Linked DNA regions of Homo sapiens: all the other regions are linked to region 2. The links are contacts of gene promoters, found by promoter capture Hi-C in blood cells and fetal thymus (Javierre and others, 2016). All regions are on one chromosome and are shown on one strand. Each heading gives the region's core, a stretch centred on a gene start or on the middle of the fragment in contact. The rest is flanking DNA. Distances are from core to core; before and after follow the strand shown.

Region 1 (4,191 bases), core at 32-2,531, 1.5 Mb before region 2:
CCAGATTTGTTCAGTATTTAAACAAATTTCATATGAAACATGCCATTTTATTTTTAGGTACATAGAACAGTTTCTAAAACGAAAAGTATAATCCCACCATCCAAAAGGAAAAATTAATTTATGTTGTATAATAGAAGAAAAATAATATCATAAATGTTATGTCACATATAAAATGATAAAAATGAGAAAATTAGATAATTATTTTGTTAACTCATTTCAATTCTGACTTGGGAAGATGAAGACAAATACAGTTGTATTTATGTGCTGAAATATGTTGTTTTTTATATAACAGGTTATTAATTGTACTTCTGAGAAACATTTTTGGTTTTCCAGTGAGACAGTGAACTACTTCCTTATGCCAGGAAAGTGTGACAACAAACCAATGTCATTTGTCTGCGGAACAGTAAATAATTAGGTCCAGAATGTGGCAATTTAGAATATTTCATATAGAGGTATCAGAAATATAAATGCTTTGTTAAAATGAAATGTTACTTCTTTAAAATTTAAGATTTTATGTCTACTAAAAGTTTCCTGAGTTGTCATTTTGTGATGTTTGGCTGTAGTTGTAACTTTAACAAATGGAAACTCTGGATCCTGATTAACATAAATATTTTTCCCTGGGCTTATTTTTGTTTATATATTTCTGTTGTGACTATGCGACATATAAGCACTAGATCAGGACTATGAACTTGGAAGAATTTTTTTTATTGCATCTCATTGACACCATATATTGTCATTTCTAAGGCTAATTTTAAGAATTACCATTCTTTAATGATAGAATTAGACAATAGTCTTTTGTGTGGGTGAAGTATTTTATTAACAACTTAGCAATAAAAATACATAATTATGTCCTGAGATAATTTTTGGTAGGATCAGGAAAGATATTCTGAATACAAGATGGCATATTTGACAAGTATATCATGCAAGTGAACAGAAGGCTGGAAGTCAGATTGCTGGCCATAGAAAATAGTACTGACTTTGGAATTCTCTATGGCTGAGTGTTTAAAAGCACAAGCTCTAGAATCAGAAGGTTAGGGCTCAAATCTTGAATCAAACATCCGATAGCCATTTAATCTTGAGCAACGTATACCAAACTGAGCAAGATAAAACTTCACAGTCATTGCACTCAATTTAACTTAACAGAATATTGCACCCATCCAAATAGAACAAATTCTTATAAAAATCAAAGATTACTAGTATAGAAACCACAGCTAAAAACAAACAGAGTGGAAGAGCAGAACAGACACAATTGAAAACTAACCCGGGTATATCAAGCAGAGTAAATCTGGAGCACAGAAGAAGTTGTTAAAAATAGAAAACAGAAATATGACATCTGGCTTTCATAGAGTACTAGATGAGAAAAATGGAACAAACGCATTAAAATTATTATTTAATAAAAAAAAAAAAGAACAGGAAAAGAACCAGGTACCAAGTCAGAAGTGGCCCTCCTGCTTTATACCTATTCATCAAGATTGTATTGGCTCTTCTTGGCATTATCATGAGTATTTTAGAACCAGCTTCTACATTTTCCCCAAAAAAATGGTTTGGATTTCAAGTGGGACTGCATTATGGGATAAATCAATTTGGAGAGAATTGATACATTTACAATGATCCCAATTTACAACACTTGAATCTTACAATCCATGAAGATGATGTATTCCTATATGAATTTAATTCATATTTAAAGGTTTATATTGTCAGTGGATAGCCCTTGCATATTTTTTGTTTTCTTAGAGATTTGATGCTTTGATGAAATTTTAAATAATTTAAAATTGCTCTAATTTGCTCTAATAGAGGAATCAGTTATGTAATCATTTTATCCAGTGAACTTGATAAAATTGCTTATGATTTTTTAAAAATTAGAGGTTTTAATATGTTGTACATACACAATTGTATCTCTGCAAATAGTAACATTTTTCTTTTGAGCTATGATGCATCTATACTTTTATATATTTTTATATATTTTTCTTTATATTATCTCAAAATTTTCAAATTATTTGTTTTTTGTTTGCTTGTTTTTGTTATTTCATCTCTTTGGCTTACTTGTTTGGCTGTTTGCTTTATTTTTTTTTATTTGGTGGAAAAGAATGGAAGTCTAAAGCCTCTTTATTTTACTTTTTAACTTGAAAAATAATTTTGGTGGGTAAAAAATTTTATGTTGCAGGTTTTTTGTTGTTGTTAGCACTTTAAGGAAGCTGTTTCACTGTCTTTTAGTAACTGTGTCTTCTTTTGAGTACTCTACTATCAGTCTTGTTTTACTGCCTTTGAAGTTAATATGTCTTTTTTAAATGCTTTTAAGGTTATCATTGGTTTTTAACAGTTTCACAATGAGGTGCCTCAATTATCTTTGTACTTTTTCTAAGCGGGATTCTCTGAGATTCTTGTTGTCATCAGATTGGAAAAAATATCCATCAATATTTGTTCAAGTGTTGCGTCTGAACTCTTTCTCCTTTCCTTTAGAGATGCTGATCAAAATTATGTTAGAACTTTCCTTTCACTCCTGCCTTTCTCTTATTCTATCTATATATATCAATAGATATAATGTATATATGTGTGTGTGTGTGTATACACACATAAATTCATGTATATAAAAGAGAGGGGACAAGGGAGGGAGAGAAATATTAAGAAATAGAAGGTCTAGACTTAGACCTTCTTATGTATTATCTCACTTAGACTTACAACAAACTTGCAAAATAGGTATTATTAACCACTTTTGACCGACAAAGAAATTTGAGGTTGTTAAAACCTCCTAGGCTTGTCTAATTATTATTGAGGAATCTGGGATTCAACCTAATACTTGTTGACAATTCCAGGGACTATTGTAAACACAGGAGGAAGTAAAAAATATACAAAAGCAAGTATCAAATTTTATTGATAGAATGTTTTGTGAGTTATAAAGGGAATATAAACACATATGTATTCAAACACAAATAAATTGTGTGTGTATATTCAAGTTTTAAAAGGTAGTTTCAGCTTTACATAATAGTATTACGACTTAATAAATCAGTAAAAATTATTAACACACTAAATTTTTATTGTAGACTTTCACCAATTTATTAAACTCTATTAAGGGGAAAGAGGAAAGGTCCTAAAATGTCCTTAATTTCACAGAGAGCATTAGGATTATATCTGTGCTATAGCTGATGTATAGGCTTCACTTTAGTTTGCCTTCCAGATAGGAGGGGGAAGCACAGAGGGGAATGATAGCTAGCAATGTTGTATTAATACTGATCCTGATTATTGTATTTCCCAATGCAGCTCTCATTTGCTGAATTAAAAATTATCTAATAATTTAGATAATTAGCTTGCATTTCAGATGAACCCAGTGTCCCTTTATGAGACTTTTATTATTTTTGTTGTGACAGTGATTATGGTGATGTTTAACATTTGTTTTTCTCTAACTAAGTCACAAATACTCAGCAGCTGACTTTTAAAAGTGATCAGTATTTTACATAGAAGATTCAGGGAAGCACTGGTTCTTGAATCTCTGATTTGGGCCTTAGATATGTCTCCTTCATGAAACAAAGGCCTCTAGATACTAAATAGACTCATGAGATATTCCAAGCTGCATCTAGCTGATAGATGTTAGAGAAAGCCTGTAGTCCTCTCTATGGGCTTCGCAGCGATTCACTATCCTAAACAATTATGATTTTATTTTTAGTATTTGGTGAAGTAACAAGAGCAAAAGATTAATGTATATTCAATCTCTACAGTATTTTAACAAGCCAATTAAACCAGATATGTTTATTTTTAAAATACTCTGTGTGTACATGTGTGTTTCTCAGTAAAACTCTGGAATCAATCTCTCCACTGACTGCCCAATCCTGTGGCTTAATGAGAAGTTCAACAATGCAACAAATATACATGTGAAATCTACTCTTTGTTTGCCATGCAGTTTTCTATGTTCTTGGGAATTATTCATCAGTAAAACTGATAATGATTTATAGCAAAAACACAGAGTTGATAATTACCACTTCTCTCAACTCCAGAATTGTAGTTGTGAGTTGTCTCACTCCTGCTAGCATCAAGTATGGCTTTATATTCAGCATGCCCTTGGTGGGGCAGCTCCATAGTCTGTGTTTGTCCCATGGTCACCACTTTGTGCTATGAAGTTTAAGCCATTTAAGTTTAGGTTTATCCTTTCAACAAGATAGTGATAAATCAATTACAAAAGTATATCGAGAGGAGAAA
Region 2 (3,859 bases), core at 1,354-3,853:
GGAACAATTCATTTTCCACATTTAGCTGACGAACAGTTTGCTCTTGGTAAAGGTCCCCTTTTTCAGCATAGGGACCTTTCTGGTGAGCATCCACATGGGTAACAAAATGGTTATTAGGAGCAGAATCCCTTCCTCCTCCTCAGGAAGAGTTGCCCCTGTTAGGACACTCTGAAGGAGGAAGTCTGTAGTGACACACCCCACAAGGCACTAAGTTTAATAAGACTATCTCCTTGTTAACAATCGTTCTTCTCAGAATCAAAAACTTCCTGTAAACAATCAGTGAGCATCCCCCATGACCCAACAGCATGAGCAGCGAAGTGCCCCCATGGGACTGTCAGGATTTTTGCTCTTACAGAACAGCACTGTATGATCACCCTCTCACTGCACCCATTTGGTCATGCCATCAGGTGTCCAGGTAGTCAATCAGGACAACAAGCTAAACTGAAACTAACAATCACAGCTTTATTCACTTACTGTGACAGTGCAAGTCAAGAGGTTTAAAAAAAAAAAAAAAAAAAAGAGGCACCAGCTCCTCAGTGTTCCATCTCTCCCCATGAAACAGCACCAGGTGAGTCAGGTGGATGAGACACAGATGGGAGAATTCATCTCATTTCCTACAGCACTGAACAAAAGTCTTCTGTCTCTTTATGGGGGGTGAGAGAGAAAAGGACTAGAGTAGAAAAGTGCCTCCGCTGACACCCTCAATAAAGATGTTTTAGCAGAAGTGCTCAGGAAATGCCTCAGGTGAGGTCCCAATAAGGAGGCTGCTAAACAGAGACCACTGGGTTGGGAGTGTAGACATGCAAATGAGCGTGGCTGGCCTGGGAGGCCGAATCCTTGACTACCACTCCCTCCAGGGACTGTAATGCACCGGTTATACACCAAGTTTGGTGTAGGGAGGGCACCTTCCCCTATGCCAGAAAAAGCCTTGCAATTGTCTATGGTCAAGCCTGAAAGATCACACACAGGAATTTGGGTCTGAAGTGAACCTCCTCACTTACTATAAGCAAGGCTGATTAATGCTGTCATACTATGAAGATAAATACAGTACAGTTACCAAATTCTAACACCCATTCAATATAATTAAAGGAAAAAGACATAAATACAAGGTAAGATAATGAGGAAAAAAAGAATATGTAAAAGTTTGCCACAGTTTTTTGATCTCATAACTATTAATAAAACTCTTCTGGGCACACCCTCACCTTCACTTACAACAAGTGAAAAAAATGAGTGATATATAAAAATTGGTTCCAATCTAAAATATTAGAATCACATGCAAATATTCAGATATCTGAGTTGGACAGTTAAAATAATATTTTAAATATATATATGTATACTCACGATTCATCTAAATCTTCTACAAATCCTTTACAGACGACCATATCAAGTACAACAACTGAAAAAAAAAGACAAAATGTACACAATAAATGCTGATTATTTGGCTCATACCGTATAAGCTTAGTCATCTCTGAAGTGTTTTTGACCTTTCACAACCTACCAAAAAATTCATCACTGATGCATCCCAGGGTGCAAATGATGCAAAAGCAAAGGTAGTTCATCCATTTAATAAATATTTAGTCTGTATGCAACCATATCGTGACCGGCCAAGTTCTAGGTAAGCCAATAAATCTAATACACACAGTTCCTTTTTCCTCCATATTTTCACTCTCATCTTACGTCTCTTTTTAACCATCCTATCTTTTTGGAATACAAATAGACAGCATTCTTCTTTATTTCTTTTGCTTTAGTAGCAATTACCTCTTCCGTAAAAACTCCAAATGCCATTCAAAATATTTCCCCTCAAATAGATACGTAGGAAGAAAGTCGAGCTGCAACTCTAATACTTATTACACGGCAGTGCCTGACACAGAGTGGGCTCTAAAAGGTTGTTAAGTGAGCGGACCCCAGTGAGAATGAGGGCACTCCATGCTGACGGGAGGCAGCTGAGAACCGCTGACACACACTCAGGTCCTTTTCACACCGCACAATCCCGGCGGCCTGACCCTGATCTGTCCTCGACCACCCTCTCTTGAGTACTGGTGGTAAAAATCCTTAAACGTGACAAGACTCGGAACCTAAAGCCAAGGCAAGATTTGGTCGTTAAGCTGGGACGGCGGCATCCTTCTTGCCCATCAAAGGAGTAAGCTTTATTGAAACTTCTGCCACAATGAGAAAAACACAAACACAAGGCAGCGCGCCCTTCCCACGTCCAGCATTGGTCCGGCACAGCGGCGGCGGAAGGACCCCAAGGTGTCCGCTCCGTCAGGGCCAGGCAGGGTGGCGCGGCGGGGGCGGCAGGACGCTGCCGGGAATGGGTGGGCATCTCCACGAACCCCGCAGGCCTCGCCCCAGACCCGGGTCCAATCCCGGCCCCACGGCGGGGCCAGGTCCCACGCGCCCGCCAGCGTCCCGACCGCTGAGCCCCCATTACCTGTGGCGCAGAGCCGCAGGGCCGTCCAACTCTTCCACGCTGCCATGCTAGCCCGGGAGAGCTGCAGAAGCTGACTGTGCAAAAGAGGGATAAAGACACTGGGGTCCGCCGCCTGCCCGCCCGGAAAGGGAAACGGAGCCGACCCGGAGCGGAAGAGAAGCACCGCGCTAACTACGGGGGCGGGGCTACCCGGCCAGTCTCCGTCTCCGGCTATGCGCGGGAGTGCGGCGCATGCGAGGGGAGTGCGGCGCATGCGACAGCGCCTGCGCAGTCATGTCTTAAGAATCCTTTGCGCTCTCGGTGCCCCCCTCCACGCCCAGGAGCGTGGGAACCCTGCTTAAGGGCTTTACTAGGGAAAACGGTGCTGGTTCACTGGGGCGCGTTTCCGGGAAGGTGAATACCGGTGAAAGTTATGCTGAGGGTGAGGTAGGCTCTGACGACGCACTTGCAGGTTGAATACTGGCACATCATTTACTTGTTACTCCCGTGTGGTGAGTGCACCTGTGGGTTTTGATGCTGGATCAAATTCCTGGAAAGAGGCGCGCATTAAGACTGCGGATTGCTGAGCTGCGCGACACTCCGTATTTTTCCAAAACGTATTTGTAATATTCTTTCAACCTGTTTGCATAATGGGACATCTCTTAAATGCAGCAAGCTTTAATGCATTTTTGCCAAAGTAAGGATTGCCTCTTTAAAAACTTTCTCTTGAAACTTGAGAACATGAAGTTAAGCGTAGGATATTTTTTGATGGCTCTTTTCTGATTATTTTGGAACTAGATAAAGTAGTATGAAATATTTATATTGCTACCTGTTTTTTCTTCTATACGACAATGATTTGTAAAAACCATATACTTTTATAAGACGGTTACTGCAGCAATCACTACTTACGAACTAGATGAAATTTTTATGGGACATAAGGTACCAGAGAATTTAGATCAAACCAAATTTTGAAAACCTGTGACAACAACAGAAGGGGGATATGATGTCAGCCGGTTCACCTTAGGTTCAAAATTCCAACAGGCAAAAATGTCATAAAACGTCGTTATTCCTAGTGACTAGAAGATTAAATTGCACTCTAATTGAGAGCAAGCCCTAAATGTCACCCCCTTTGTGCATGCAGCATGGTATCCAGCGCAAGCCCTCTACAGATTCAATTTTTCTTTTTCTTTCTCTTTTCCTTTTTTTCTTTTTTTTTTAAGAAAAAAGTAGACTAAAACGTAAGGGGACTGTTGAAATGATGGGAATGTTCTCCCGGTGGTGGTGGAACAGCTTTATAATAGTACCATCGCCTCGATACTCTTATACAGAAGCTTTTCTACTTTCTTGGCAAGGTCTCTGAATGACCCATATTCAATTTTTTTTTTTCATTCTCATGTATTTCAAAGTTTTCTGTCTTCCACAGCATGCAAAGTGAAATAATTTCCTCTT
Region 3 (4,079 bases), core at 773-3,272, 1.5 Mb before region 2:
GTGAGCGCAATGTACACTATTCAGGTGATAGTTACACTCAAAGCTCAGGCTTCAACACTACACAATGTATCCAGGTAGCAAAACGGCACTTGTACTGTCTATATCTATAAAAATATATTTTTATATATAAAAAGTGGATCTGTTTTCATCGAAGCCAGTTCTGGAGCTCAGCAGACAAAATTATTTTTCCTCATTCCTACCTCACATCCAACCCTTTTTGTTCCCTGAATTTCTCAGAAATATATTTGAGAAACACTGGAGTAAACTGTCTTTAAAGAAACCTTTCCTTTTTAAAGCTTCTACCGTCAATAACGTCGTGTAACAGAGAATAACACAAAAGCTTTCTGGAATCTATTGTAAAGATTTATGGTGTTATTCTAACTAGATTAGCCAAAATACTGTGCAAGAAGTGTGTGTGTCTATTTATAAAAATATGTGTACATTTGCCAGTTGAACCTTGCTCTATTATGGTGGAAAAAGGGATTATTCAGACGATTTTTGATACAATTTTAAACTTTATCTATCCATGGGCGAATCACTCTCCTGAAATCACACAACCTCCTTCCCTTCACCGCCCCACAATGACCATTCATTGTTTGATACAGAATATCTTCTGTCCTGGTCTCCATTGTATTCATGATTAAGACTGGATATTTCAGCCTAAAGAACGTCAACCCAAGAACCATACTCTGTGTAATTTGGAGAAAATTTTACCATCTGAAAATGAAGATAAAGACTACCTCATGTTAAATGGCTGTTTAACCCCAAAGAAACACATGAGATGTAAAGAACATCAACCCAAGAGCCAGACCTATGCAATTTAGGGAAAATTACTTCTACATTCATAATTGTACCATCTGAAAATGAAGATAAAGACTACCTCTTAAGTTAAATGGCTTAATATATGTTTAACCCCAAAGAAAAACACGAGACACATATTGTCTGATGAATATTAGCTATATTTGTGCTATGTAAATGTTAAATTTATCTGGTATTGCTTAGTAGTTTTAAAGCATATATGGTATCAAACTATATGTGTATTTATCTATTAATTTTTTATGCATCAATATATAAGAACTAAATTTAGCACGATTCTCTATTTCCACAAATTTATTTAGTATTTTTAAATCCTGTAAAAATTTTAATTTAGAGTAAATTTGTTACTGAAGTACAAATTAGGTAAGATATATCATTTGGTATTAAAGATTGTATTTTAATCTTCTGTTTCTAAACACACTGGTGAAGTGGTTAGAAGCTTAGGGAGATAGGATTTATCAACAGCATCAAGTATATGTTTTCCAATGGGAGAAACGGTTTTCATTCATTCAGGCTACTATAACAAGCTACAATAGACTGGTAGATCTTTTTCATTCATCAATGTATAGACCAATTTATAATTTCTCTTAATTCCAGAGCAAATATGAATGTTTCGATTGAGATTACATGAATAACTTATATGTATGGGCCGGGCACAGTGGCTCACACCTGTAATCACAGCACTTTGGGAGGCCGAGGCAGGCAGATCACCTAAGCGCAGGAGTTCAAGATCAGCCTGGCCAACATGGTGAAACCTCAATTCTACTAAAAAATATATATAAAAAAAAAATTAGCTGGACATGGTGACATGGTGGCATGCATCTGTAGTCCCAGTTACTTGGGAGTCTGAGGCATGAGAACTGCTTGAACCCAGGAGGTGGAGGCTGCAGGGAGCTGAGATTGTGCCACTGCACTCCAGCCTGGGCAAGAGAGTGAGACACGGTCTCAAAAAAAAAAAAAAAAAAAAAGTGTATACATGTATTTATTCAATCTTATTTTAAAATACTAAATAACTTCAAATTCCCCTTCCTTTTCAGAAGTGTTCTTTTTAATGATGGCTAATAAAATATTAAACCTCCATATTTAATATAGTTTTACAAAATAATATTCAAGTACTAAAATGTTCTTTGGCAAAGAGTTTCATTCAAATAATCAGTTGAATGTTCATTAAGCCTGACAATCTGTTTTAGTTCCAGTGGTAGAAGTTTTATCATGCTAACATGGGGTCAGTATTTTCTCTGTTGTGGTCCTTAACTGAAAAGTAATTTATTTCCTCATATTTCTTGTCATAAGTGGTATCATTTGTATTGCAGCATGACCTAAGCCAGGCAGGTTTTCAGTTTGTTTTACTAATAAGACATATTGCTGACATGTTCTCAGATCTTGTCTGACAAATGAGCTTAGTGAGAGTAGTAGCAAAACAAAGAGCTGATACTATTTTTCTTGCTTATTAGCTTCCAAACATCTCAGAATACAGACATAAAGTGAACTGCAAACTGCTCAACATATCTCTAATTGCTTTTGTGATGCTATTCAAGTGTATTAGTAGAAACTGCAGCAATGGCTATCTTTGGCCATTCTGAGTGCAGTTGTTTAAGGCTGGAAACCACAGAATCAATAACTACTAGACTTTTTATTTAATTAAAGACGAGAGAGAAATAGTACCTCCTGTTAAAAAGTGCCTTGTATTTCTTATTTTCTTTCAGTAAAAATCAACCTCTTGGACCAGCAGAAGGTCAAGACCTGCCCAACATGATCAAAATTAGAAAGTTTTAACTCATCCTTCTAAACTAAAATAAAAGGCAAAAAGATGCCTCATTCCTATTTAAGGATTAAATGTGAAAACTCAGAAGGTTATACATAATCTGAGAGAAGATAGCCCTCTACTGAGAACAGGTTGGAAATATATACTCTGAATATTGAATTTTACTCTTTAAGGCTGTCTGAAGTAAGAATGAGTGCGGATAGCTAAAGTAAGCTTATAGCAATTAAGAAAATTAGCTAAATATTAAAATCTAAAATAATTCTTACTTGTTTTATAAGACTAATTTAATTTCCTTGGAAAGTAGATATTACCATTTAGGGCATTTAAAAAATTAGTTCCATTAAGCTGTTTTGTTGCATGAAAATGATGCTTGAATTAGTTTACTATTTGAAGAATATTTGAATTTAAAACTACTTATCTTTTTACTTGAAAAAATGTAATATAGTGATTTGAAATTGCTTTTATGTAGTGAAATGTCATCTTAAAACTAACACGTAGATATAAATTAAAAGTAACACTCATAAGAAAACTAAAATACTATATATGTATTATTATACCTTTCCACCAAAATATTTATCTACATTGTTTAAAGTTTTATTTCTTTAATACTCAAATTCTTTAGAAGTTCATCACAAATATATTTTATTAAAATTTGAAATTATTGTTTTATGTCTTTAAACTTGTTTGAATCATTTTATTATTTTAAGATAAGATTCAGATTTAGTATGTACTTTTCTTTTTTTACATTACATGAACCTACATTTTAAAGTATTAGAGTGTATTCTCACTTTACATATTGTATAGTTAAAGACTACTCTAAAAAAAAAAATCTCTTGATTATCTTAGCACCATGGCCAATTGTCTCAATATTATGCAAGGATGCTTTAGGAATGTTAGTTAACTATTTGTGCCCATATATTTTGAGAACATAGAACAAGTGTAACTGCTGGGTCATAAGCATTTCCTTTGCTAAACAACCCTTTACAACCTAGATCATGTTAATTTTTTTAAAGCATTGTGTAAGTGATTGTTTAAGGAATTTTGTTTTTCTTATCAATTACTATAAACATTCAAAGTACAATTTCAGCATTCTATTTTAGATGTAAACTTGCTTAGTTTTGGAAAGAAGATATAAAAATAAATAAGTCATTAGAGTTATCTGACAACTAAACAATTTGCCATTTAAGTTGGGTCCTTTTGTATACTTAACAAATTGAGGATGTACTTTAAAAAAAATACTCAGTTCGACTCTTTTTTCTGCTCAGTCAAGGGGCCTAGTTTTCCAATATTACTGCTTATGCATGGGAATGAACTAAGGTTTCTATTTGAATAGAATTATGTATTTCAAAGTCCAAGTAACCAATACAAGTGATAGAATAAGTCATTTCAAATTATTATAAATCAGACTTAATCAAGTATTTCCCAATTAACATACTTATAAATTGCTTTAATGAGTAGCCCCTGGCTGCTTAAATTCCTTTTGTTATTTGTTTAAGAT
Region 4 (4,111 bases), core at 90-2,589, 1.7 Mb after region 2:
TAAAAAGGATGCTTAGGATACAAGGGGTGCGTTTACTCAAGATGCTATCTAAGTAATTGTCTATTGGTAATAAAAAAATAGCTAGAAAGAAATTAAAATTAATTCCTCCAGGAATATCTTTGGTCTGAGAGCAATAAATGTGTCAAATTACCATCTGTAGTACAAATGTCAGCGATCTGTTTGTACTGTTATTGGTGGATACTATAATTCCCAGACCCAAGTAGAAATAGGGATTTTGCAGCTGGCTAGGTGCAATGTATTTAAATTTGTTTTGGGGGTTAATCTGGAGAATAGGTGTATTGTTCTTTGTAAAACAATTTAATGGTAATAGGCAAAATGGCAGTGATAAAGTAAGGAACACAAGAGGACACAAATAAAAATAGGGAGACCTCAGTCAGGCATCTTTGCTGGGATGACTCCACATTACAAGTATAGAGTTACACACACACACACACACACACACACACACACACACACACACACACAGAGTTGCCTGATGTGGCAAAGAAAAATCCAGAACGTCCTTCCCTCTCTGAATTGTTCCTCCTATGTGCTCCCTGGGCTCTCATCACTCTGTCTGACCCTGTTCAGTTCTCTTCATCCGTCAATGGACTGTAAGTTCATTCCACCAGTTTATCCCCAGTGTGTTTCACTGCGCCTGGCTTAAGTCAGATATTCAGTTAATATCTGTTGACTGAATGGATGAAAGAGTGAGTGGCACAGAAAACACACTCACGCTTGAGGATCGCACAGCCGTGTGAAGCTGACTGTGGATTGCACTGAAGAACGAGGCTGGGATAGTAGAGATGCCCAAAGGAGGAGACTGTGAAGGCAAGCCTGGATTCTGCCCTGCAGCCCCTAGATACCAGGGCTGGTCCTGGGCACAGGAGAGACAGGTGAGCATTGATGTTTCAGAAAGAATATTCTTCCAGCAGCATGAAGGGCAGCTTATGGATAGGTGAGGCGGGAGGCACGTGGGAGATGAGACAGAAGGGTTTGTGCTTTATAATCTGAGTTGGAAGTGTGGGTGTTTCTTCTCTGTGGTCTGTGGGTTTCAGTATTAGTTATATTCTGCAGTTGAAGATGACAGTGATTTAGAGCAGGGTTGACCCTAAGTCTCCCCTGCCACCTCCCACACCAGAGCCATATTGTCACTGCTATGACCCCGACCATAGGAGGGGCAGAAAGACTTCGCAGGGTCTCAGCTGAAGGAGGTTTTGGGTGGAAGCGGCCAGAAGGCACCTGTGTTAGAGCAGTTAATCATTAAAAACACACACTAATGCTCCCTTAGAATATAAATGGTGTATGTTAGTGTGAACAGCTAGGAGGGCAGAGGGTGAGTTACCTGAAGAAGAGGAGGACACAGAGGAAAGAGCTGTGACCCCAGTGACTGAGAAAAAAGGTGCCGAGACAGCTGCGGCCGGCAGAGCCCGCGGGTTCTAAGATTCCTCTCCACTCAGTTGCTAACTCCTGCCCCACTCCCCACCTCCCACAACAAGAAAACATTCTTCAAGAGTAGCTGGTGCCTGTGATTTCTTTCATAAGAAGCAGAGTCTTTAATTCTGCATTGGAGATTAGAGGTTTACTCTAAAAGGTCAGCTCAGGAGACTCTTGAAAACAGCTCCAATCTAAATGCAACCAGTTCATAAATTCCTGTCCTATGGAGATAAGTTATCGCAGCAAATCCAACCACAGGCAGTACAGCTCCTGAATCATCAGGGAGAATTAAAAGGAGATGATGAAATGGGTAGCTTTTAGATTAATACAACGGTATAAAACCCAGGGAATGAGAGAATCTTGAGACTGTTATTTTCTGTATCTGCCATGACAAACGTTCCTTAATTCTTTAAACACTCATTAAAGAAATGAAAATTACTTTCTCATTCTCTAAAAACAATTAACAAACTTGTAGAGGGGAGAGAGTCTGGGGGAATGGGAATTGAAGATGAAGGGATGGGGGAAACGTCCGCTGGAGAAAAGCGAGAGACACACGTTTTACCAGAAATTGAGCGCTTAGGATTTTTGGCATTGCTGTTATGAAGACAGGAAGTTCTGATGGACATTTATTAGGATTGCCAGATAGAACACAGGACGCTCAGTTAAATTTGAATTTCAATTAAACAACCAATAGTACATGAGACAGTTGCATTCCATATATTTCTTGGGACTAAAAACATCATTCCCTTCCAGGAGAGAGTGATGTTGCACCATAGCAGGGGTTAGCAAACTATGACCTGTGGGCCAAATCCAATCCTCTTCCTGTTTTTGTAAATAAAGTTATATTGCAACACGGCCTGCTCATTCATTTAAATATTGTTCATGGCTATTTTCACAGCATAACAGCAAAATTGAATAGTTGTGAGTCAGACCGCATAGTCTTCAAAGCCTGAAATAATTACTTTCTATTCTAGTGGAAATCAGGAGTTTTCTAGGTATAGAAGTTTAGGAAAAAACTGTTTCTGGTCCTGAGGTTTCAGAAAACATGACAAATAGGAGGATGCAGGAAGTTTGGTGAGTGGGGAGAATTATAAGCAGGAAATTTAAGTGGGGATCAGCTTTTTTTGTGTGTCTGAGACAGATTCTTGTTCTGCCACCCAGGCTGAAGTACAGTGGTGAGATTATGGCTCACTGTAGCCTCGACCTCCCAGGCTCAAGCAGTCCTCCCACCTTAGCCTCCCAAAGTGCTGGGATTACAGACAATGAGGCACTGTGAGTGGTGGGGTCAACTTTGGAAGGGTTTTGTAAACCATTTTAAGGAATACCTTTGCTCTTTCTGTTTAATCTTCCTAGAATAGTTTTCCTCTCAACATGCCTGTTAAAATCTTATCCGTTCTTTGAAGCAAGCTTTAATCTCACCTTGAGCATAAGATTTTTGGTAAGAATATTTTTGCTCATTGTTCTTTTTATTTATCAGTGCAATAGTACTTATAGTGGGTTATCATTAGCTGTTGCCCTTACGTAACAGAAAAGTTCTTTTTTTTTTCTTTTGAGACAGAGTCTCACTCTTTCACCCAGGCTGGAGTGCAGTGGCATGACCTCGGCTCACTGCAACCTCTGCCTCCCATGTTCAAGCAATTCTTCTGCCTTAGCCTCCCGAGTAGCTGGGATTACAGGTGCCCGCCACCACGCCCAGTTAATTTTTGTATTTTTCGTAGAGACGGGGTTTCTCCATGTTGGCCAGGCTGGTCTTGAACTCCTGACCTCAGGCGATCCACCTTAGCCCCCCAAAGTGCTGAGATTACAGGCATGAGCCACCATGCCTAGCCAGAAAAGTTCTTAAATGCAGAAATTATTCGTCTCCATAGGTACTAAAGTGATTAAGGTAGTTATATATAAGTAGATGTTCAATAAATAAATATTGAATAAATATATATAGTGATGGGCCTACAAGAGTGTAAGAATAATTACAACATTGTTTGACTACAACAGTTGAATGCTTCCGCAGGGACAATTTCTCCGGCATGGTCCACATCTTCCAATGTTCAGTGCTATCATTTACACCTGCTTCTTTACACTGCTGACTAATGGGGCAAATCTTTTCTACTTTATTATTGTTTTTGCCTTTCTTTATTATGACTAATAACCCACTGGCCAACCTAAATGTCAGTCGTCATCTTCTTTGCTCATTTCCTTCTCCTTCAAATTGTGCTGTCAAGCATTCTAATTTTGGCTGGCTTAGGTGGGATTAATGCTCCTGACTGTAAGGCTATTTTCCCCGCTTTGCACAAATATTTCTTTAAGCAATGATCATACTTCTTTGGTAGCTTTGTTACAATCCGGTAATACCTGGGCATCTATCTTCTGTATTGAAAAAAGAGCATGGTCAAAGGATTCAGTATCGAGCTCCACATTTAATGACTAAAGAAGACATTTAATTTGAAATACCATTTGTCTCCAAACTGACATTTTATATATGAGAAACCTGAGATCCACACAGAGATCAAATGACAGACAGCTGGTTTTCATGGAAGTCCAGAGAAGCACCTTCCAGCAGGTTGCAAACTTCTCCCTTTAGAAGATAACAGCTAAAATCTTTCTGTCTCCCACTCTTGGCTCTAATTTGTTTATCAGACAACCAGCAGTTTTGTCATTGTTTCTTCATTTGGAGACA
Region 5 (3,867 bases), core at 1,085-3,584, 1.5 Mb before region 2:
GGACCCTACCTGTGACAATGGTTAAAACAGAAATTAGGAAATATCAGAGGATTATGTAGCATACCTGAGGAGATTTATGAAGATATGACAATTCAGAGAAAAAAAAACCCATAGTTTGAGACCATAAAGTCAAACAAAAGTTATTATAAGTGAAAACTGGAGAATGAGATCTCTCTTTAATATTGAAGCAAAAATGTTAAAAACAAACAAACAAGCAAGGAAGCTAAAACTGAGTGAACAGAATTAAACAATGTATGAACAAGATCATATATTATGACTAAGTGTGTTTTATTCCACAAATGCAAAGTTGTTGTAATTTAATAATTTTAAGAAGAAAAATGTAAGATCATCTCTATAAATGTAAAAAAACCTAACACCCATTTCAGATTTAAAAGAAGAAAAAAAACTTTCAGTAAAGGAAATTTCCTCAATCTGATAAAGACAATTTACAAAAAAACCTACAGCTAACATTCTACCTAATGGTCAAATACTAAATACTTTATCCCTAACATCTGAAAGAAGGCAAAGATATCCTACATTCATCACTACTATTCAACTTTGCAGTGGATTCTAGCCAGATAAATAAGACAAATAAAATAAATTAAAGGCATCCAGACTGGAAAGAAACAAGTAAAGCATTTGAAGTTAGCATGTCCTCATGGAAAAACTGGGAATTTACCCAAAAGAGCTATGAGAACTAAGTGCGTTTAGCAATGTTAAAATATAGAAAATCAATATAAAAAGATCAAGTGTATTTCTGTGTGCTTGTAACAAAATCATGAAAATCGAAATTAAAACATGCCATTTAAAAATGTGGAATACCTAAATCTGATATGAGATGTAAAAGACCTATTCACTGAAAACTACAGAATAGACCTACTCATATAAGGACAACTGATTAGAAGCCAAGACAATGGAGTGGTGAGAGGATAGTATTTTTATAATAGTGCTAGAACAATCAGAATATCTATATGAAGAAAGGATGAAATTTTATCCATACCTTGTATTCCATAAAATAACTCACTTAAAATGGATCATAGACCTAATGTAAAACCTAAAAATATAACATTTCTTAAAATGGTTAAAAAAATTTGTGCTTTTGTCTTAGGAAAATTGTATTTTTCTTTAAAAATAATTGAACACCATTACCTCTATCTAGTTCCAAAGTATTTTCATTACCTGAACAGAAAAACCATACCAGTTAAGCAGTTGCTCCTCATTTATTTTCTCCTCCCCCCAACCACTGGTAACAACTAATCTGCATTTTGTCTTCATAGATTTTTCTATTTTGTATATTTTTTATAAATGGCATCATATAATATGTGACTTTTGGTGTAAAGCTTCTTTCACTTGGCTTAATATTATCAAAGTTCATCCAGGTTGTATTATGTATCAGTACTGATTTGTTTATATAGTTGAAAAATATTCAAGTTATATAAACTATATATTCAACTTATATAAACTTTCAACTATTCAAATATTCAACTTATATAAACTTCAAACACTCAACTTATATAAACTATATAAACAAATATATTTTCAACTATATAAATAAATCATAGTATGTATAATTATAATTATATAAATATTAACTAATGTAACTAATATGTAATATTAACTATATATATTATTACATAGTGATATTCACTATATATTATATAATTACAAGTAAAACGTAATAGTTTTATTAACTTTATATTATATACCATAATTGCAATATATAGTATATAATTATATATTACATATATTAGTTATAATATAATATGTATTAGTATATATAAAAGTATATATAATTATATATAATATGTAATATAACTATAATGTACAATATATAATTATATTATAGTTGTGTATAATATATAATTAAATATATTATTTTTATACTATAAAATTTTATAAATATTATATATGTAATTACATATATAATTATGTTTTTTCATCATCTGCATATACCACAGTTTATCTGTTCTCCTACTAAAGACCATCACGGTAGCGTCCAATTTTTGGCAATTATGAATAAAGCTGCTATAAACGTCCAAGTACACGTTTTTGTATGCATTTAAGTTTTCAAACCCTTTTTGTTGGAAGGAGCACAATTGCTAAATTGTATGGTGAGAGTATGTTGCCAAGTTGTCCTCCAAAATGGCTGTATCATTTTTTATTCCCACTAGCAATAAAGCAAATGATGCATTGTTCCACATTTTCACCAGCATTTGACAATATTAGTGTTTAAGTTTTTGTCTATCTAATAGGTGTGCGGTGTTTCTTACTGTTGTCTTAATTTGCATTTCCCTTGGAAATGCTATTTTTAGCATATTTGAGGCACCATCAAACTCTTTTCCACAGCGGCTGCACCATTTTCCATTTCCAACAGCAATGCACAAAAGTTTAAGTTTCTCCACGATCTCTATGTTTTATCATCACCATCCTGGTGAGTGTCAAGTCATACCAGATAGTGGGTTTGTTTTGCAGTTCCTGATTGTCTAACGATGTTGAACATCCTCACATATACTTGTTGGCCATTCATTCACGTTTCGAAGAAATTTCTAAGTCCTTTGACCATTTTATAAATTTACTTGTTGTCTTTCTTGTTGCTGAGTTGAAAGTGTTTTTTTGTATATTCTGCAGCGTTCAACCTTATCAGACAGGTGACTTGCAAATATTGTCTCCAAATTAGTTGGCTACTTTTTACCCTCTTGACAATGTCCTTTGATGTACAATGCTCATAATTTTGATGAGATCCAATTTATCTATTGTATCTTTTATCTATAATGACTTAGTTTTCATATCAAAGCATTCATTGTCAAAGCCAAGGTCATGAAAACTTAATCCTGTGTGCAAGCATGTGGGCTAGGAACTCAGAGATGCATAACAGCATGGCTGACCATTAGAACCTGAGTCCTTGACGACAACTCCCTTGAAATAATGCACTGCATTGGCTGTGCATTGACACTGATGTTGGGAGGTCAGCTTTCTCTCAGAGACCTGTCAGACAAAGTCTTTTAATTGCCTATGGTCAGGCTTGCAAAATCATATATAGAGTTCTGGTCAAGAGTTAAGCTGAACTCCTCAGATTTGAGCAGATCTCTTATCAAAGAACATGTTTTGGTGCAAATAAGCACCTTAAAAATGTGCATTGTCATTAGTCACTGGAAAAATGCAAATTAAAACCACACTGAGATTCCTCTATATGCCTAATTGAATTGCTAAAATTAGAGTGACTAAAAAGTTTGACCATACCAATTACTAGCCAGGATGTAGTGGAAGTATAAATTTCATACACTGTTGGTGCAAATGTAAATGGTGTAATCACATTAGAAAAGAGTTTGGAAGCTTGTCAAGAAAGTTAAACAATTATTAATACTTACCATATGACCCAGTCTTTCCACTTTCAGAGACTTGCCCAAGAGAAAATAAATCATATGTCCATACAAAGTTATCTACAAAAATATTCATAGCAGTTTTGTTTGTAATATCATAATCTAAACATAACTCAATATATATCACTCAGAGAATAAACAAATTGTTGTATACACAAATAATAGGTTACAACTCATAAAACAGGAATTATTGAATCACATAAAAACAGACAAAAAATGGGTATACTGTGTGATTCTAGTTTCCAGTGATTAAAGGGAAATTTTTGAAAATGTCACTATTGTATAGTGACAAATATCAGATCAGTGGATGTCTAGGAAGGAAATTTAGGGAGAGATGGACAAAAGACCACATGAAAACCTTTGGATGTGATGGATATGTTCAGTTTCTTAATCATGCTTATGAATTTAAACATGTTTGTATGTATACATATATATGTGCATGTACATATAAATATGCATACACACGTGTATATATGTTAATCACACC
Region 6 (4,197 bases), core at 445-2,944, 1.6 Mb after region 2:
TGTCACCCAGGCTGGAGTGCAGTGGTGCGATCTCGGCTTACTGCAACCTCCGCCTCCCGGGTTCAAACGATTCTCCTGCCTCAGCCTCCTGAGTAGCTGGGATTACAGGCAGCTGCCACCACGCCCAGCTACTTTTTGTATTTTTAGTAGAGATGGGGTTTCACTGTGTTGGCCAGGCAGGTCTCGATCTCCTGATCTTGTGATCCGCCCGCCTCGGCCTCCCAAAGTGCTGGGATTACAGGCATGAGCCACCGTTAATTACTGTTTGTTGTGTTTCCCACTAACTTCTCTGACAATTCTATTTCAACCTACATTCTCCAATCACTGTAATTAGATATTTGAGAATTGTGTTGCATTTCAATCACGGTAACAATAATGGTAGTATTTTATTAATAAATTCAAGTAAAAACTGAAGATGACAATGATAGTGTATGATACATGACATCAACTTTGCATCACCTAAAGATCCAACTTTTCTGTTATGAATCTAGATTTCTTGGGGAAATCCAGATTGTATATTGGACATAGGAATTAAGATTACTGGACTTGAACTTTTTTGTAACTAACAACTTTATTGAGATATAATTCGGGTACCAACTCATACCTGAACAGCTTTTTAGACTTTTTTTCTAGCCCTTTTTTCTCTGTCCTTTCGGTTTTCTTTTAAAAAGGTCCATACTATTCAAGAAACACAACTTTTAAAGTCCACAATAATTCTCATTAGATTTTAATATTTATCTCCCCCCAAGCTTTACTGAAATACTAATGATATTCATTTTTTTAACCACTTTTCATCGTAAGAGAAATACAAATTTTCCTATTGATTCTTATGCACAAAAATCAAGTTTTTGTGGTACTGCTATACATTAGTAGTATGTTCAGCCAGTTTCCAAAGAAATTAGTCAAGATCCCAACATGCAACTTGTATACCACACTACCTTGGAATTCGGCGGCACAAACAACTATTCCTTGTACAAAACCTCCCTGAAAACGACTAAATGGAAAAGTGGATGGCTTGAAACAAGGAATGTTTGGTTTTTTAAAAAGCATTTTTCACAATTTAGTCGAGGTGTGGGGAGGGTTTCCCCACTTGTGGCTCTGCACAGCGTGCGCGCGCGTCTGTCCTGGGGTCCCCTCCCTGCGGGGACGAGGCCGGGGTCCCCGCGCGAGCCCAGCGGACCTGGGCAGTGCGGGGGTCCGACCGCCCGCCACAGGGGGACAGGGACCGCAGCCGCCAAATCCGCGGGGCCGGGGAACGAGGAGACTTTCCTTTCCGCGTTAGCCGGGGCCACCCCCGCCAGAGGGAAAGCACCAAAGGAAAAACCAGGACAGGGACTCTGGGGGCCGGAGGAGCGGCCTCCTGCAGGCACCAGCGGAGGGGCGCGGGGGTGGGGGAAGGGATCAGGGCTCCGCGCTCCGTCCGCCCCACGACCCCGGCCCGGCGCCCCTCCCCTCGGAACCCCCACTTAGTGCCCGGCCCCCGCCCCGCCCCGCGCGGCCCCCGGCCTCAGCCCCGCGCGCCCCGACGCCCCGCCTGCGCCGCGGGCCCGAGTAGTGGACGGGGGGCGGCCCGCTCGGCTCCTCCGCACCCGCTCCCCGCTCGGGCCGAGGCGCCGCGGCCGCGCGCCCCTCCTGGAGGAGGAGGAGGAAGGAGGCGGGAGGAGGAGTTGCCGAGAGGAGAAGGCGAGCGCGGCAGTCGCGCCGGCGCTGGGCGAGGAAGCGGAGCCGGGCCGCCTCCGGGTAAGCGTCCGGGGAGCTCGGGCGGGAGGCAGGGGCAGGGCTTCGCCGTCCGCCTCCGGGTCGCCCGCGGTCCGGGACACGGCTGGTTTTCGCCTCGGAGTGCAGGGGGCGGATCCGGCGCGGGCCGGGCCAGGGAGGCCGCCGGGCGCGGGGCTGCAGCGACGGGTCTGGGTCAGCGCGAGGCCCTGCGCCGTCTCGGCGGGTGCGCGGGCGGGGGCCAGGGCCGGGGAACGGGGGCCGGGGCCAGTCCCGGGAGCGGGGACGCGGAAACCGGGAAGCCGGGGCCGGGGCGCGGCGGCCCCTGAAGGGCCGAGGCCTGCGCGGCCGCGGACGGCTCTTCTCGACCCCTCGGCCTCTTCGGCCGCGGCGCGCCGGCCTGGGCCGCCGCCTTTGTTGCCCGCAGCTCGCCGGGGAGAGGCCGGGGCTCCGCGAGGCCTGGGCAGCGGCGCGGGGCCTGCGCGGCTCTGCGCCCCGGCCGGGTCCCTCCTCGGACCTCCGCGGGCTCGGGCTCGGGCTCGGGGTCGGGGCGCGGCGAGGCCGCAGGCGCGAGGGCGGGCCTGGGGCGCGGCGCTGGGACTCGGGGACGCCCCCGCCCCACCGCGAGGTCGCGCCGGCGCTGGTGGAGGTGCAGGCCGGGGCTGCTCTGCGGCTGAAGGTGCCGCCGGCCGGCTGCGCACTCACCCGGGTGTAGGGACCGGACGATTGTGGAATTTAAACCGCTCCTGGGACCGACACGGGCCTGAATTTTCAGTTTGCTTCGGGAGTTGGCAACTTCAGGTACACCCTTGTGGCTCACGGAGCAGAATTATGGACGTTTCTCAGGGGCAGATCCTGGCACAAAACTTGGGATATGTGCAGTAGTGTGTGTGCCAACTTAACGTTCAGTTGGAATGTGAAATTGGGGTTCCCATCCCCACTGTTTGGAATGAAGGGCCAGGTGGGAATATGTGGCGGGACTCAGTCTTCCGGTAGCAAAATAAATAATGTTGAATTCATTTCAACAAATGTTTCTGCAACGTCTGCCCGGATAAGGCAGCATGCACTGTGCATGAGGACAGAGAACACAGTAATGACAGAAATAACGTGAATTACACACTGAACGTCTCCCAGAGACATTTTAAATTTACTGTGTTCCTTGGGATAAAGATACATTTGGAATCAAACAAAAGTAAACGTTCTACTTCAAGATAAAATATCTGACATCTTCTCAACCACTGAAGGTAGCAATTTATCTTGACTTGTTTTTAACCAACTACCACAACATTAAATCCATTTAGCTTACTTGAATGAACGAATCTTAATTGTAATATTTAATGCTGTGGACAGCCTTACTTAAAAACACGAATGGCATTGCTCACCAGGTTTCACAAAAACCGGAAAAAAAGTCTGTAATACTTTTCCGTGGGCTTTCTAATTTCTCCTCCTAGTGGGTTTTGTGCACGCGTGGATATGGTAAGGTCTAGGATCCATTCAGCTCTAAATTAAATATGTGGCCTTAACCCTTTGGTTCAAACACCCTCCCTAAGCCTGCCTTGGTGCCTTGGAGGAACCTGGTTCGTGGACAGTGGATTTGATAAGGATTCCTAGAAGAACTTCTATCTGGAGTTTGGCCAGGGCTTTCCGCTTGTGCCTGGGTAAGGGTCAGCCAGGTATTCACCCGAATCTATACTTTTTTAGAACTCCATTCAGCATCTCTTTTGAAACACTGTTTCTCTCTTACCTTTATCGTTATCTTCTAAATTACCCTCTAAATTGGTAGTCTTGCCCCTTTCTCTTCAGCAGGGCCTCCCACCCAAGCGCACACCCTCGGGTCATCCCATGACCCCCTCTCTTGGTGGGCCCCCCACCCCGCAGGGAGTGGCAGGGAAGGAATTTGAGAGCCATTGACTGGGCGTAGGGTGGAAAATGGTGCTGTACTGACTGGGTTTCTAGTCATTTTGCCTTCCAGTGTTTTTCTTCATTCTTGCATTAGAACTGGAAAAGGTGTTCTTTTAATGGCCCCCCTTTTTTTAGGAAACAGAAAGCAAGTATCTTCTTTTTTGTTTTTCCTCTGTCACCCAGGGTGGAGTGCAGTGGTGCAATCATGGCTCACTGCAGCCTTGAACTCCTGGGCTCAAGTGATCCACCTCCCTCAGCCTCCTGAGTAGCTTGGACCACAGACATGTGCCACCACACCTGGCTGATTGTTTTTTGGAGAGGTGGGGTCTTGCTGTGTTGCCGAGGCTGGTCTCAAACTCTAGGCCTCAAGATCCTCTCACCTCAGCCTCCCAAAGCCCTGGGATTACAGGCACGAACCACCACACCCAGCCTGCAAGTGTCCTCTTAAGCCTTCTTGTGTAACTACACTCCTTAGAGAAAAATCTTGCTAGTTTTCTCCATTATGGCCAGTTTTCAGGAAACTTTTGGGTTATTGATCATATCTTTTATTTTGCTCATAGAGGTGTGATCTTATTTAAA
Region 7 (4,013 bases), core at 73-2,572, 1.7 Mb after region 2:
ACCAGTTTGTGCTTTTATTTTCACTTTGTTTGTGGTGTCTTTTGTTTCATGAAAGTTTTAAAAATTTTTTATGTTGTCAAATACACCTTTTTTATCATTTGTTGTTTTAAAGAAATCTTGTTTGAAAAATCATTTTCTACCATAGTCATAAAATCTTGCTCTTATAATTCTTTTAAATGTTTTAATGGATTTGATTTTCATGCCTGGCATTTTAGTAGGCTTTGAATTATTTCTTTATATGATGTAAGTGAGGGATACAATATTTTCCATATGGATGACCAATTTTCTCAGATTTATTGAAAAGACTGGTATGTCTCCAGCCTCTCTGAAACACTGATCTACTTAGTACTGCCTAGTACTGCAACAAACTCCCTCTCCTAATTGACTATGGTTTTGTAATAATCCTTATTATCTAATAGGCAAGATCTTATCCTTCCCCGCCATGTTTTGTCTTTAGAAATGTCTTTGCTCTTCTATATTAAGAATAGACATGTTCAGTTATAAGAAAAACCTTGCTTACAATTTTTAAAATTGGAGTTTCACTGATTTTTTAGTAAAATTCTAATGTATCTATGTGTCTTACCATTGAATAACATGGATTACATCTCTACTATTCACAATCCTTTATTGTGTGTCCTTCAATGATATTTTTAGTTTTTTCTATAAAGGTCTTGTCCACTTTTAAAGAGATTTATTCATTTGAATCTTATAGTTTATGTTATTTCTTTTTCCTCCTTTTTTTCCTATTATAGTTCAGGCTTAGTTATAAAATAATTGTAAGTTTAAAAAATAAGCTTAAAATAAGCTTAATTATAAAATAATTTATTTTGTTATTTATTGATTTTTCATTTTTGCTTTTTTGAGACAGAGTCTTGCTTTGTTGCCCAGGCTAAAATGCAGTGGTGCAATCATGGCTCACTGTAACCTCGATCTCCCAGGCTCCCAAAATCCTCCCACCTCAGCCTCCCGAATAGCCAGGAGTACAGGCATGTACGACCATGCCCAGCTAATTTTTGTATTTTTTATAGAGATGGGGGTCTCGCTATGTTACCCAGGTTGGTCTTGAACTCCTGGGCTCCAGTGTTCCACCTGCCTCGCCTCCCAAAGTGCCAGGATTACAGGTTGAGTCACCGCACCTGGACTATTTGTTTAAAGTAGTTGCTGAACTCTTTGAATTGTTTTGCTTGCATTTTTCATGGTGACACATTTTCTACAAATTAGGAATTTTATAGAAATATTATCTCCAATCTTCTACTTTTTGTACCACTTATTTCTTTTTCTCACTTTAATTGCATTAGTGAGGTTAAGTAGAAATGTTATTAGGTATCCTTCATATGGGGCGTTCTTGCCCCTGAATTAAGTGGGAATGTGAATTAATCTCTTTCGTAGTGACGACTGAATGGGAAGGATCTTTGTACTCTTCCCATCCTTGCACTGTGGTGGTTAGAGATGTAGGAAGATATTGGAGAGACAAATAGAAAACATACCGTGAATAGGGCTTCTGGCAAAATTCCTCTTGGCTCCACCTGAGCTGGTGATCTCAGGCTTCCTGTATAGGACAACACATATTTTTTCATACTCACTAGTTGTTCATTCATTCATGATTTTATAAGATTAATAAATGAGCAGTTTACCTACAAAAAATGGCAGGCAGTGTTCATGAACTTGGAGGGAGGGGAATGACTACAGCCTACCCTGTGGGGAGGGAAGCAGAAGCTCCTGTGTCTCACAGCTGAAGGGAGCTTGGGATGTAACGAGGGATACTTGCTTCTCTCTCCTGGCTTAGTGGCCAGAGGTAGCAGTGTGTAAGTGGTTAAGCTCATGGCAGTTTAGGGTGCTCAAAGCTTCTCCTTTATATTTGAAGCTGAGTTAAACTCAGATAAACTGCACTCTATTGCCTAGGCCAGAGTGCAGTGTTGTGATCATAGCTCACTGCAGCCTCAGACTCCTGGGCTGAAGGAATCCTTTTACCTCAGCCTCCTGAGTAGCTGAGATTACAGGTGCATGACACTACACCTGGCTAATGCTTTATTTTTTGTAGAGACAGGGTCTCACCATGTTGCTTAGGCTGGACTTAAGTGATCCTCCCGTCTCGGCCTCCCAAAGTGCTGGGATTACAGGAGTAAGCCACGGTAAGAAGTAAGCCTTGGATCTTAAATGTAGTTTTAAAAAGCTGAACTCCGTGTACCTTTCCAAACTTCACAAGGAGCATCTTTCAAAATATGCTGATCTAAGTCCCTAATATAATTTGAATATTTACAATAGAAAATTATTCAATTAGGCTACTATAGTCATTTTTCAGGAGAAGTTAGTGATAGTATGATCAATAAAATTTTTGTACAGGATGCAATGTCCTGCTGAATCTATTATGCATTACTGTCTTTCCTTTGAATATGCAAAAAGTAAACAAATAGCATCTCTTTATGTCAGAAATTTAGACGTCCACAAAACCGCGTGGCTTCCTGGGGAGCTCTGCAATTTTTGCTTCATGAATGGGCAGGAGCCCAGCAAGTCCTGCCTCTTTGCTTCTGTCCACACTTAACAGACTGGCACCCTGAGGAGTTATTTAATTTAGAAAAGTGCTCCCAGTACTGCCTTCTACTCTTTATCTTAAATAGGCAAGTCTTCCTCCTAAGAAAAGACATCAGAAAAAGCTCCCTGGTGAAAAGAAAGCTTATCAACCACCGAGTCCCCGGGAGAAGCTGTCTCCTGCCTAATGGTAGGAATTATCTGTCTGAGCTTTCTGCTGTTACTGCAAGGACCCTTGGGCACACTCAAGCTTTCAAGAAGCTGTGCATCCTCTGCCCTGTCATGGGAACCTGATTTGGCTGTTTTGCTGAGTCAAAGCATTGGACACTGCAGTCAGCTCCTTCAAGTCGCTGGCTTTCCCCTTTGGATTGTTTCTTTCATCTTTACCCTCAAAGTCTCATCCATTCTTCAGTCTGTGCTCAAATATACCTTTGTCCTTGAGACCTGGGAAGCCTTCCTGTGTCCCCACTTCTCTCTTCTCACATTTGCTCTGTGTTATCTGTTTATACCTCTTGTTTTCATGGAACAAAGCTTGGGCTTTGGAGGTCAACCTTGGTTCAGATCCTGGCTCTGTGTCTCACTGCATGAAGATTTCTTCATTTTTATGATCCTGTATTTCCTCATTTATAAAATAGAGATAATAATGCCAAATGTCATTAAAAATGACACCATATTTGTGTAAAAAATAAATAAGTATATAAATCGTTTGACATGTTGTCTGTCAAACACTCGACCATATATTGTATTCTTCCTTCTTCCTGTTACAGGTAGTTACATATGAGCAGGGCAGGAGAGGGCTCTCCTTCGCCCCTACCCACTGGGAATGTCAGGCGATGGTTTGGCAATTATCACATTGCTTCTTTAAAAATGATAATTTGGCAGCCAGGGAGAGGCCATTTCCTGATGGTCCACACCTGTTAACATCAAAATGTTAACTGAATGCAGACCCCAGGAAGAAGCTACTGGGCATGCCTGTTAAAAGACAATAATGGCGAAGTACCATGTTCTGGGTGGGGTACACACCATTGGAAAAGGGAAGAGAGCCTCAGATGGGCATGCGCATAAATCCCTAAACACACTGGGGTGTGCTCAAGTCCAAAGGGTGAGGAAAACACTGCGCATGCAGGAAGCCCACCCTAAGGGGAGAATCATGGGAAAGAGGCGAGTCTATAAAGTCCCAGGATCAAGGTTAAAGTGCTGTTTGTTGTTCTATTTTTTTTTTTTTTCCCCTCGAGACTGAGTCTTGCTCTGTCGCCCAAGCTGGAGTGCAGTGGTGCGATCTCGGCTCACTGCAACCTCTGGCTCCTGGGTTCAAGCGATTCTTGTGCCTCAGCCTCCCGAGTAGCTGGGATTACAGGTACATGCCACCACGCCCAGCTAATTTTTGTATTTTTAGTAGAGACAGGGTTTCACCATGTTGGCCGGGCTTGTCTCGAACTTCTGACCTCAGGTGATCTGCCTGCCTCGGCCTCCCGAAGTGCTGG

The links. The method cuts DNA at HindIII sites, captures the fragments that hold promoters and counts their contacts. A CHiCAGO score of 5 or more calls a contact.
Region 1: a fragment that was not itself captured here is called in contact with the fragment with the promoter of TMX3 in region 2 in 3 of 17 cell types (total CD4 T cells, activated CD4 T cells and total CD8 T cells); the score reaches 13.7 in total CD4 T cells.
Region 3: a fragment that was not itself captured here is called in contact with the fragment with the promoter of TMX3 in region 2 in 15 of 17 cell types (naive CD4 T cells, total CD8 T cells, total CD4 T cells and 12 more); the score reaches 19.3 in naive CD4 T cells.
Region 4: a fragment that was not itself captured here is called in contact with the fragment with the promoter of TMX3 in region 2 in 2 of 17 cell types (M0 macrophages and monocytes); the score reaches 9.8 in M0 macrophages.
Region 5: a fragment that was not itself captured here is called in contact with the fragment with the promoter of TMX3 in region 2 in 1 of 17 cell types (naive CD4 T cells); the score reaches 6.6 in naive CD4 T cells.
Region 6: the fragment with the promoter of SOCS6 here is called in contact with the fragment with the promoter of TMX3 in region 2 in 7 of 17 cell types (M2 macrophages, erythroblasts, M0 macrophages and 4 more); the score reaches 9.0 in M2 macrophages.
Region 7: a contact is called between a fragment that was not itself captured here and the fragment with the promoter of TMX3 in region 2, in 1 of 17 cell types (M0 macrophages). The highest score is 6.6, in M0 macrophages.

What each region holds. Positions count from the first base shown.
Region 1 is chr18:67,205,248-67,209,438 of GRCh38, forward strand. No RefSeq gene overlaps it. Among named protein-coding and RNA genes, the nearest start is that of MIR5011, 130 kb to the left of the region's middle. The HindIII fragment of the contact is 6,959 bases long and covers 1-4,191 here.
Region 2 is chr18:68,712,505-68,716,363 of GRCh38, forward strand. TMX3 (thioredoxin related transmembrane protein 3) reads right to left here and starts at 2,604. Exons shown (of 16, transcript NM_019022.5): 1 at 2,432-2,604; 2 at 1,342-1,396. The coding sequence starts at 2,477. It also overlaps a transcript of CCDC102B not described here. RefSeq lists silencers at 2,252-2,351, 2,532-2,661 and an enhancer at 2,862-2,931. The HindIII fragment of the contact is 941 bases long and covers 2,144-3,084 here.
Region 3 is chr18:67,220,908-67,224,986 of GRCh38, forward strand. No RefSeq gene overlaps it. Among named protein-coding and RNA genes, the nearest start is that of MIR5011, 140 kb to the left of the region's middle. The HindIII fragment of the contact is 1,539 bases long and covers 1,254-2,792 here.
Region 4 is chr18:70,418,072-70,422,182 of GRCh38, forward strand. No RefSeq gene overlaps it. Among named protein-coding and RNA genes, the nearest start is that of LINC01910, 36 kb to the left of the region's middle. The HindIII fragment of the contact is 3,005 bases long and covers 1-2,842 here.
Region 5 is chr18:67,184,289-67,188,155 of GRCh38, forward strand. No RefSeq gene overlaps it. Among named protein-coding and RNA genes, the nearest start is that of MIR5011, 100 kb to the left of the region's middle. The HindIII fragment of the contact is 1,993 bases long and covers 1,339-3,331 here.
Region 6 is chr18:70,287,351-70,291,547 of GRCh38, forward strand. SOCS6 (suppressor of cytokine signaling 6) reads left to right here and starts at 1,695. Exons shown (of 2, transcript NM_004232.4): 1 at 1,695-1,740. RefSeq lists a silencer at 1,531-2,430. The HindIII fragment of the contact is 7,416 bases long and covers 748-4,197 here.
Region 7 is chr18:70,438,286-70,442,298 of GRCh38, forward strand. No RefSeq gene overlaps it. Among named protein-coding and RNA genes, the nearest start is that of LINC01910, 56 kb to the left of the region's middle. The HindIII fragment of the contact is 1,039 bases long and covers 804-1,842 here.